2 separate regions of the Homo sapiens genome follow, and region 2 is linked to region 1. Evidence: promoter capture Hi-C in 16 types of primary human blood cells and fetal thymus (Javierre and others, 2016). All regions are on one chromosome and are shown on one strand. The core of a region is centred on a gene start or on the middle of the fragment in contact, and the rest is flanking DNA. Distances in the headings are between cores, read along the strand shown. Region 1 holds the start of WDFY4 (WDFY family member 4). Region 2 overlaps WDFY4 (WDFY family member 4).

What was found. Contacts are between HindIII fragments. The CHiCAGO score rates a contact against its expected background, and 5 or more counts as called.
Region 2: a fragment that was not itself captured here is called in contact with the fragment with the promoter of WDFY4 in region 1 in 1 of 17 cell types (total B cells); the score reaches 5.1 in total B cells.

What each region holds. Positions count from the first base shown.
Region 1 is chr10:48,681,730-48,686,849 of GRCh38, reverse strand. It overlaps WDFY4 (WDFY family member 4), which reads right to left and starts at 1,977. Exons shown (of 62, transcript NM_001394531.1): 1 at 1,849-1,977. RefSeq lists enhancers at 1,187-1,727, 1,746-2,045, 2,976-3,055 and a silencer at 2,706-2,755. The HindIII fragment of the contact is 16,271 bases long and covers 1-5,120 here.
Region 2 is chr10:48,756,106-48,761,308 of GRCh38, reverse strand. WDFY4 (WDFY family member 4) reads right to left here. Exons shown (of 62, transcript NM_001394531.1): 13 at 869-962. Among named protein-coding and RNA genes, the nearest start is that of WDFY4, 74 kb to the right of the region's middle. The HindIII fragment of the contact is 560 bases long and covers 2,884-3,443 here.

The sequences.
Region 1 (5,120 bases), core at 728-3,227:
TGCCCCAAGATGCATGTACAAAAATAGTTCTAGCGGCACTGCTTATAATAGAAAAAAAAATAAACTCTTGAAATACCTAAAATGCCATCAACAGCATCTCAGATAAATATATTGAGGTACACTCATCTAATAGAATACTGTACTGCAGAAAACTTTAATTATCTACAGGTACATGCAACAATATGAAGAAATTTCAGAAACAAACTTTTGAACCAATTAGGCAAATTTTAAAAGAATATTTAATTCCATGTTTACAGAGTTCAACAACTTGCAATCATACATATATAGCGATTTAAATATGGGATGTAAAATTAGAAAAAGAAGCAAGGGAACAATAAACCCAAAATTCTGGACTGTTGCTGCTTCTGAAGAGGGAAGGTGAAAGATGGGCATGAAGAGGACCTCAGAGATGATGCTGATCTTTAAAAAAATCTAAGGTGTCAGCACACAGGGTTTATGCTGTTTTTATTACTTCTATCTTATTATGGTCTTTCTAAATTTTCTTTTCTTTCCTTCTTTTTTTTTTTTTTTTTTGGAGATGGAGTTTCATCGTGTTGTCCAGACTGGTCTTGAACTCCTGACCTCAGGTGATCTGCCCCTCTCAGCCTCCCAAAGTGCTGAGATTACAGGCGTGAACCACTGCGCCTGGCCGAAATTTTCTTTTCTTTCAACACAGAAAATCTTTCCAAGTTCATGAAAGAATAGCCCATGTGCTCAGGATGGACAGACAGGAAGGGCCTCCCTGACCTGACCCTGTTCCCTACCTCTCTGGCCAGAACCCCAGGCATGCCCCTTACCCGGCTCTGCCACACCAACCTCCACGAGGTCTCCTCCTCCAGACCCTTATCAAGAACACTTCTCAGAAACCCACAGGACTCGGCCTCCCTCACAGGTCCCCTCTCAGAAGACTAGAGCCATCCCCACCCTCCCAAGACCCCCACCCTACCTGCTATTCTCCCACCTGCTGAGCACCGTAGACCCCTGTCCGCTTTGACCAGAGCCTGGCAGGGCGTGGTTTCTCAATACCTATTTGTTAAATAACTAAATGAATGACTATACATAAACTCATATTAAAATTAGTGTGCTCCATGGAAAGGGTAATGCATAGAGCCCTTAGTTATCAAACCAGCCCCCCCACACTTTAGATGAGTTGGGACAAAGGATCGGTTTAGTGTTCTAGAAGTTTCATTTCAGGGGAAAAGAAGAATCAGTCCTTACTGAGCAGGTGGCCCTGCTTAGGCAGAAAATGCAGGCGTTTCAATGGTTTGCTGTAATAATTCAGATGAGGGAAGTGAGCCCAGGGAGGCACCTACTTACCAGAACCCAGTGGAGTAATGACAGGGCCGGGATAGACCAGCTCCCTCTGAGGCCCGTTGGAAATGGCCCTCCAACTCTGCACTCCTCAGAGGCCTATGAGGGAGCTTGGAGGGCGAGCCTCACTGTCCTGTCGGCCTGCTCTCTCCGCCCCCTCGACAACCAGGAAAGCCCGTGTCAGCCCTTCCCAGGGTTCCCTTCATAGCAGGACCCCGAGAAAGGACTTGACCTACCGTCAGAGGTCGAGGAGTGCTGCTGGAGCCCAGCCTGACTCCCAAACTTCAGCAGTGACACACACTCAGGCAGACCCAGGCCCTGGAGTGGCCCTGACCACATGGGCCCCCCACGCCACACACACTTCCTGCTCCCCAGCTCACCTCCTCTCCCACATTCACAAACCCAAACCAGGCACTGGGTCACATGTGCCCCATAGTCAGCCTCCCAGGAGGCAGCCAGTAGGCCCCACGCTGACAGGCGGCGCCCATATGCCCACCTCTAGGCTGGCCTGGCTGGGCCAAGAGCAAGGTGGCCTACCTGGAGGGGTGGCCGTCAGCGCCTGTAGACATCAGAAGGCATGGGCCCCCTATCCCCAGCTGCAGCCCCTCAGGCTCGGGGGAAGAGGACCCGGCCCCACATCGTCAGTCCTCAGCGCCGTTTCACTCTGAATCACTGGAGCTGGGTCTCTGCTCATTTCCTGGAGAAAGCAGAAGTGGAGAGCCGGCAGATGCCTGACTCTGCCCACTCTCCAGCCGACCACGGAGCTGCTGGAGTTCTGGCGGGTGACTTGGGTTCTGCAGCAAGGCCCCTTGGGGCTGGCTGTGCAGCCTCCGTGGTCAAGCGGTGCTGGTTGGGGCCAAGGACAAAATGGAAAGTACAGCCCAGCCCTAGAAGAGTAGGTCTGGATTCTGTGTCCCCTCTTCACTAGCCGTGTGACCACTGGTGCACACCTCTCCTCTCTGGGCCTCTGGCAAAATGAGAACAATGATGGTGTTAGGTGAATCTAATCAGAGGTGTGTTTAAGTGCACCCCTGGACATGGCATGGGTTGGGCAGCCCTCACCCCACCAAGCTCAGAGTTGCCCACTTGGATTTCTTCCTCCCCCATCCTCAGATAGAACTTGAACCACCAATGAGGGGAGTCCTCCTGCGGCCAACACTGAGGCAAGGATGAGAGGACATCTAAAACCATAGAATGGAAGTCTCTGAAACTCAGACTCCAAATTCTCATTCCTCTGAGTATATAAACTAGGCTGAATTATCCATGTCACCTATCCATAACGTCATCTCCACAGTACAAACAAGCATGTCCATTCACACACAATCCTGCTTGTGCTCTGTAAAAGGAGAATTTTGCCAAAGAGCAAGGGCACTTGTTAGCGCTAATGCCTGATCCTTGATCCTCAGTGCAGCTCATCGCTTGTCTCTAGCTCACAAAACCAGTGGACCATGCATGACTGACTGAGAGGCAGCAACAACATCACTTGTTATGACATGGAGTAAAGCTCCAAGATTGGTTTAAAGAGGAAAATAACATTTGTCACAAAACCTCAACCTCCACCAGTGCAAACTTGTCAGTAGACAGCAGCCAAAATAGGAGATCTATCCAGCTGCACTCCAGTCTGGACAGCAAGAGCGAAGCTCCGTCTCAAAAAAAAAAAAAAGAAAAAAAAGAAAAGAAAAGAGAAATTGAAAGGATACATGCAGTGCCAGCCAAGGGAAAGAGAAAACCTTAGAGAATTTGCAGTGAAGTGTTTGTTGTATATGATGAAAACCCCTCGTCATTGTCACCAATGAAATCATAAATAAAATCTACAAGAAGATATTGCCTGAAATCAGAGGCCTATGGTAAGAGCGGATTAGACAGAGGAACTTCCACAGAGGCAGGAAGGGTGGCCAGCATGGGACAGGCCAGGACCCCATGCCTGTGAATGCCCAGAGGAAGCGCGGAGAGTCTGTCATAGTGGGATCTCGCAAAGTCTGCTGGAGGGCCCACCTGCACCCAGGTCTCCTACCTTCTACCCACCCCAGCACCTTGCCGGGTAGCCAGCAGCAGGCAGGTAAAGAGCACTAAATTCAGAGCTAGAAACTCAAGGTTGAAATTCTCACTATCTTAACTGAGATAATTGACATCTTATTTGCAGAATGAATGAATGCCTTGTTAGAAGGAACAAATCAAATAATATTTGCAAGAGAGGTTTTTTTTTTTTGAGACGGAGTCTCGCTGTCGCCCAGGCTGGAGTGCAGTGACGCGATCTCGGCTCACTGCAGGCTCCGCCCCCCGGGGTTCACGCCATTCTCCTGCCTCAGCCTCCTGAGTAGCTGGGACTACAGGCGCCCACCACCTCGCCTGGCTAATTTTTTGTATTTTTAGTAGAGACGGGGTTTCACCGTGTTAGACAGGATGGTCTCGATCTCCCGACCTCGTGATCCGCCCATCTCGGCCTCCCAGAGTGCTGGGATTACAGGCGTAAGCCAGCGCACCCGGCCAAGAGAGTTTTTAAATACTGAAAAGGGCTGTGCAAATGCAAGCTATTATTAGTGAGAGAGTTGCCAAAGCTAAGACACTGAAGCAGCCAGGGCAACTATGAACTGCTAATGTAAATGTGTATTTTTGTTAAAGGGCAATGTAAGATTCTCTGATTTTTAAACAATTGCCCCAAAATGGCAGTTTTACTTCTGCACCCAGTTATGGTGGTGTAACTGGTATAGGACATACCCTCCCATTGAAAGCAACTATAGAATAGTTCAAATACACAAGATAATTGTTTTCAGGCATTGAATAGCAAGACTGTGATCCTTGAGATAAGGAAAACACACAAGGTGAGCCCCACAATTGCCCTGGAGTTTTTTCTAGTGATGCTTTTTCTGCTATGATGCAGGCAGGTGGGGCCCCAGAGACAGTAGTCTCCCTGAACTGAAAAGGTTTAAGTCAGAGTTCAAAGCTGCTGAAGGCTCTGGTATGTTCAGGGCAGGTTCCTGAGGAGAGTGTGCCTTGTGGGAACTCATTGTGTGTGCCCTTGGCCAAGGATTCCTATGTGTGCACAGGGTGAGACTCCAAGAGACCCAGCAGAGGTCAACTGACCCAAGGCCGAGCACTGAAGGAGGTAACAGAGAATGTGCAGTGCTTGGAATGTTGCAGTCGCATCCCATGGAGTGTGGAGAGACCTTGCTGAGCATTGTGGGACTTCACTTTACACCTCAGAGCCCTCACCCCACCAAGCTCAGAGCTGCCCTCTTGTATTCCTTCCTCCCCAATCCGCAGACCAAACTTGAAACACCAATCAGAGGAGTCCTCCTGCAGGCTAAACATGAAGGTAATGATGAGAGGAAATTTAAAACCATAAAACTCTGAAGCTCAGACTCCACACTGAAGAAGTAAGAACCACAGCCTAGAATAAAAGCCATAAAGTTGGAACAAGTTCAAAATTGAAATAAAATAGCTCCATGTGATAAGTTACTTTTATGAGTTAACTTGACTGGGCCATGAGGTGCCCAAACATTTGGCGAGACATTATTCTGGGCATGTCTGTGAGGGTATTTTTGGATGAGATGAACATTCGAATCAGTAGGCTGAGTCAAGCAGACTGTTCTCCCTAATATGCATGGGTGGTTTCCAATCGGTTGAAGACCTGAATAGAACAGAAGGCTGAGTAAGAGGACACTTTGGCTGCTTGACTCCTTGAGATGGAACATCAGTCATCTCCTGCCCTTGGACTGGAACACTTACAACACTGGCTCTTCTGATTCTCAGGCCTTTGAACTCAGACTGGACCTTACACCATTGGCTCTTCTGGGTCTCCAGTTTGT
Region 2 (5,203 bases), core at 1,914-4,413, 73 kb before region 1:
ACGTGAGAGAGGCTTCTTGTTATCATTTACATTGGCAAGGCTCCCAGAAGCCTGCATGCCCCATTATCCCCATCATCGCCTGACCAGGGAGCCCTTGCTCCTGGCCCTTCCAATTTGCTCCTCCCCTAGCCACCAACAGCAGGCCCCTTCCCACCCAGTTCACACTAGCTACTCACCCTTCAGGTCTCTGCTTACATGTCACCATCTAGAGACGGCTTCCCTGACCTCCAACCCTTTATCTAAATTAGATTTAATGAGATCTGTTCCTGCCTCCATTCTCATTCTTCTACCTCAGCACCCTGATTTTTCCCTGTAATATCACTCGTCACAATTCATAATTTCATATTCACTTGTGAGCTCATTTATTTAGTCTGTCTGCACTGTCACTACCTCCTCATCCCCATCATAGAGGCGGGCTCTGTGGACAGTGTCTATGCTCATCTTGCTAGCTGTGCATGAGCTGCACAGAGCACAGGGCCAGGATCTCAGCCAGCATCCAGGAGAGAGATGAACATGCCAGGGAGCAAAGGACTTCCCACCAACGCCAGGTGCTGAGCTTAACACCTGGGACTTGCCTTACTATGGTTCAATTATTTTCAGTTGTTTTTTTGTTTGGCTGTTGTTCTTAGAAGGTAGCTTTGTTAACAGAAGTGATCTGTTTTGGATGGCCTTGCAAGGGTGGGCACAACTCAGTCAAGTGTCCAGGACACCCTGGTACTTTCCCACTATAGGTGTTTCCCATGGGGAGCTCTGCTAACGCAGGGCACTGAAGACACGGACAAAAGGAAAAAAGCTGTCTTGGGTCAGAAGGCATTTGAGAGATCAGTCATGTGAAGATGACAAAACACACATATTCAACACCAGGTACCTGTGGGTGATCTTCATGGTACAACCGAGGCAGCAGCCTCACCATGATGCACACGACCCCGGGATGCATGATTGCAGCATCTCCCTCATCCATCCTGCAGAGAGAGGGAGAGCCAGACATGAGACACGGACCTTCCAGTTTCTTTCTATTTTCACTGAGCTTCCTGGATCTTTCTTTCTAAGACAGATCATGGTACACATCCTGTCTTATTACCTAGATGACATTGAACTACTCCATCGAGCCTAATTTCCTCCAACTCTAAAAGGCATTGACAGTACCACACTTTCCCCCTACAGTCATAGAAGAATGCTTTTGTGCTCCAAGGCACAGTGCCTGACCCATAGTTGATGCTCAGTGAAGTTAGTTCCCTGGTTTTCTTCCCTTCCCTCCAGATACGTTGGAGATTGAGAAGCTCTGGTTTCATATTGAACACACACACACACTCACTCACACACACACACACACAGGCTTCTGGGTCCCTTCAAAATGGTGTAAGCACACTCAGCTCTGTCCCACCCCCTGAATACCGAATGCAACTAAAACACTTAGAACTCATGGAGCAGCTCTTGGAGGACTCTGGAAAGTAAATGGTAGCCGAGAAGGAAACCAAACTCAAGCACTATGAACTGGCAGTGAGCTTTCTGGGCTTCCCCTCTGCAGCATCCCCTGGTGTGAACTCACAGGTAGCCTAAAACTCGCAACTGTGCACAAGGTGTAGACATGATGGAAAGAGCTCCAAGAGAAGTCCTCTGTTTCTGGTCTGAGGAGCAGGAAAGGAGGTTTTACAGGTCACAGAGCATGGAGGAAATCCCCTGGGATTTTCTTTGTTTGGTTTCCCCATTCTTTCCCAACCCATCTTTCAGGCAATTCCCTCAGCATCAGCAACAGCAGCAGCAGCCAGGCAGACTCTAAAACTCTCAGTGAAGAGAAACTTTCTCTCTGACCAGAGGACCTGTAGTCCCAAGAGTGTAGGTAAAATTCCCATTGCTCTTTTCTCCTTTTCTCCCCTCACTGCATGGCCCCAGAGACAGATACCAGTGACACAGGGAAGAACAGAGAAACAAAAGCGCCAATTCTAGACAGAGCAGGAAGGGACCCCTTGGGAGCCAGCAAGTGTTAAGGAAAGGATGAAGAAGAGGAAGCTGAGGAAAATGTAACCACAAAGTTGTATATTAACCTCTGGGCTGAGTTCTGACTGTGTATGTGCATCTGACCCTAACTAGGAGGTAAACCACCACACACAACCAGTTACTGCATGAAGCAAGTGAGCGCACATCAAATCTCCCTGCAGTCTTTGAAAACTGAACTGATACTGGAACCAGAGAGTCCAGGGAAGATGGGCAGAAACTTGCAACCTGAACCTAAGTGGGCTAGTTCCCTACCTTAAGATATATATATATATATTCATTAACATTCTCTATAAGATGACAACAAAGACCAGAGTTCATAAGATAAGATTCAAAATGTCCAGAATACAACCTGAAATTGCTCAACATAGAATGAACCAGGGAAGTCTCAACATCTCATGTGGAAAAAGACAACCAACAAATGCCAATGCTGAGATGTCACAGATGTTGGAACTATCAGACGAAACCCTTAAAGCAGTTATTAACCCAATTCCAAGAAGTAAGAGTGAACATTTTTCAAATAAATGAAAAACAGAAAGTTTCAGTAAATAAATAGAAGCAATAAAAAAGAATCAAGTAAACACAACAACTGAAATTTGTTTAAACTCACTAAATGAGAACAATAGGAGAATGAGATGAGAGGAGAGTCCATGAACACGAAGATGGAGCAATACAAGTTGCCTAATCTGAACAACAAAAAGGAAAAAGATTACTAAAAATAAAGACAGACTCAAGGTCATGTGTAACAAAGGATCTAACATTTCTGTCATTAGAATCCTCCAAGGAGACGAGAAAGAGTATGGTATGAAAGAAAAAACGTTTGAGAAGTTTTTAGTACTTCTTTCTTCAAAGCTGGTGAAATACATAACCTTAAAGATTCAAGAAGCTTAGCAAAACCCAAATAAAATAAACAAAAAAAATTATGCCCAGACACAGCACAATCAAACTGCTGAACACTAAAGAAAATTTTAAAAATCTTGAAAGCAGCCAGAGAAAAACAACACATTACATTTAAGGGAACGACAATTTGAATAACCTTGGATTTTCTCATAAGAAAGCAGAAGTCATGGAAACAACATTTTTAAAGTGCTACAAAAATACACACAGAATTCCATATCCACATGCTTCCAGAATGAAGGCAAAATAAATGTGTTCCCAGATGAAGGAAGACAGATTCTTGCCATCAGACTTGTTCTAAGAATAATACTTTTAAAATTTCTTCAGATGGTAGGAAAATAATAACAAAATAATGAAAGGAAACTTCAGGGATGAAGAAAGAGCAACAGAAATGGTAAATATTTGGGTAAATATAATACACTATTATTGTTCTCTTCTTAAGTTCTTAAATTTAGGTATGATGGTTGAAAGTGACATTGTATTAGATGTAATACATAAGACAACCACAACAAAAATAGGGAAGGATAGAGGGAACGGCGTAGAGGTAAGCTTTCTATAATCCATTTGAAATAGTAAAATGTCAATTCTAAGTAGACTGTTAAAAGTTAATTAAGTATACTGCAGTCCCTATTGAAAGCACTAAAAAAAAAGGAGAGACAAAAAAGGAGAGTCAAAAAATTCAGTAGATAAACTCAAATTGAATACTAAAATATATTCAAATTGTCCACAAAAAGGCAGGCAAACAGAAGTAGAGGAACAAAAAAAGAGTAAAAAAAAAGAGAAAACAAACAATAAAATCCTGAACCTAAATTCAAACACATCAATAATTCAAACACATTAAAAACTGATAGACACTATTGTCAGAATGGAAAGAAATAAAAACAAAGCTATATGCCATCATTAAATATTGTGATATAGATAGGTTAAAAGTAACAGGATAGAAAAATTTATACCATCCTAACAGTAATCAAAAGAAAGCTGGTGTAATTCTACTCATATCAGGGAAAACAGACTTTAGAGCAAGGAAAATGACTCATAATAAACAGATTATATGATATGATGATTAAAAGAGACATAACAATTCAAAACGTGTTTGCACTTTACAACAGAGCATCACAATTCAGAAAGAAAAACTCATAGATCTGAAAGGACAAATGGCCAAATCCACAATTATAGTTAGAGAGTTCAACACTCCTCTCAGTAATTGTTCCTTCAAAGTCATAAACTACCTTCAAACGGTTTTCTTCGAAGCCACAAACTACCAAACTCAACAAGAAGAAATAAGTTGCCTAAATCATTTATAGCTATTACAAAAACCGAATATGTAGCTAAAAACCTGCCCACAAAGAAACCTTGAGGCTCAGTGTTTTCACCAGCAAATTCTACCATACATTTAAAAGAGAAATAACACCAGTTCTACACAGCTTCTTTCAAAAACACAAGAGAAGGGAACACTTCCCAATTCATTTTATAAAGCCAGAATTACCCTGATATTGAAAACAGAAAAACACAGTATAAAAAAACTACATTTCAGTATACCTAATGAACATAGGTGCAAAAATCCTCAACAATCAGCAAATAATACCTAGCTACATATAAAATAACGAGGGTACTATGGCCAATTGGACTACCCGTAAATGCAAGGCAAGTTTAATATTCAAAAATCAGTCAACATGATCCATATTAATAAAATCACATGATAATATCATTTAATGCATAAAAAGCATTTGAAAGATTAAAAATCTGCTCATGATAAAAAGAAATTCTCAGTAAATTCAAAGGAATTGTTTATAACCTAACAATGGGCATCTACAAATTCCCATAGCTGATGTTATATTCAATGGCAAAGACTGAAGACTTTCTCCCTAAGATTAAGAACAAGCAAGGATCTCTCCATTGCTATTGGATGTAATACTGGAACATATGGATTGGAAAGGAAGACCAAAAACTGGCACTAGTCACAGACGATGAGATTGTCTTCATAGAAAATCCCAAGGAATCCATAAAAAAAAAAACTTCTAGAACTAATAATTAAATTTAGCAGTCTCAGAATAATAGTCGACATACAAAAGTTAACCATATTCCTAAATACTAGAATTGAAAAATTAGAAACCAAAAAATTTTAAATACCCTTTGGAAGTGTGTTCAACAAAAGACTCTGGTATAAATCTAAGAAAACATGTGCAGGCCCTACACTGAATATGACAGACTTTGATGAAAGAATCAAAGACCTAAATAAACAGAAAAGCACACTATGTTTATGGGTTGGAAGATTTACTATAGTTAAATTGTCAATTCTCTCCAAATTGAT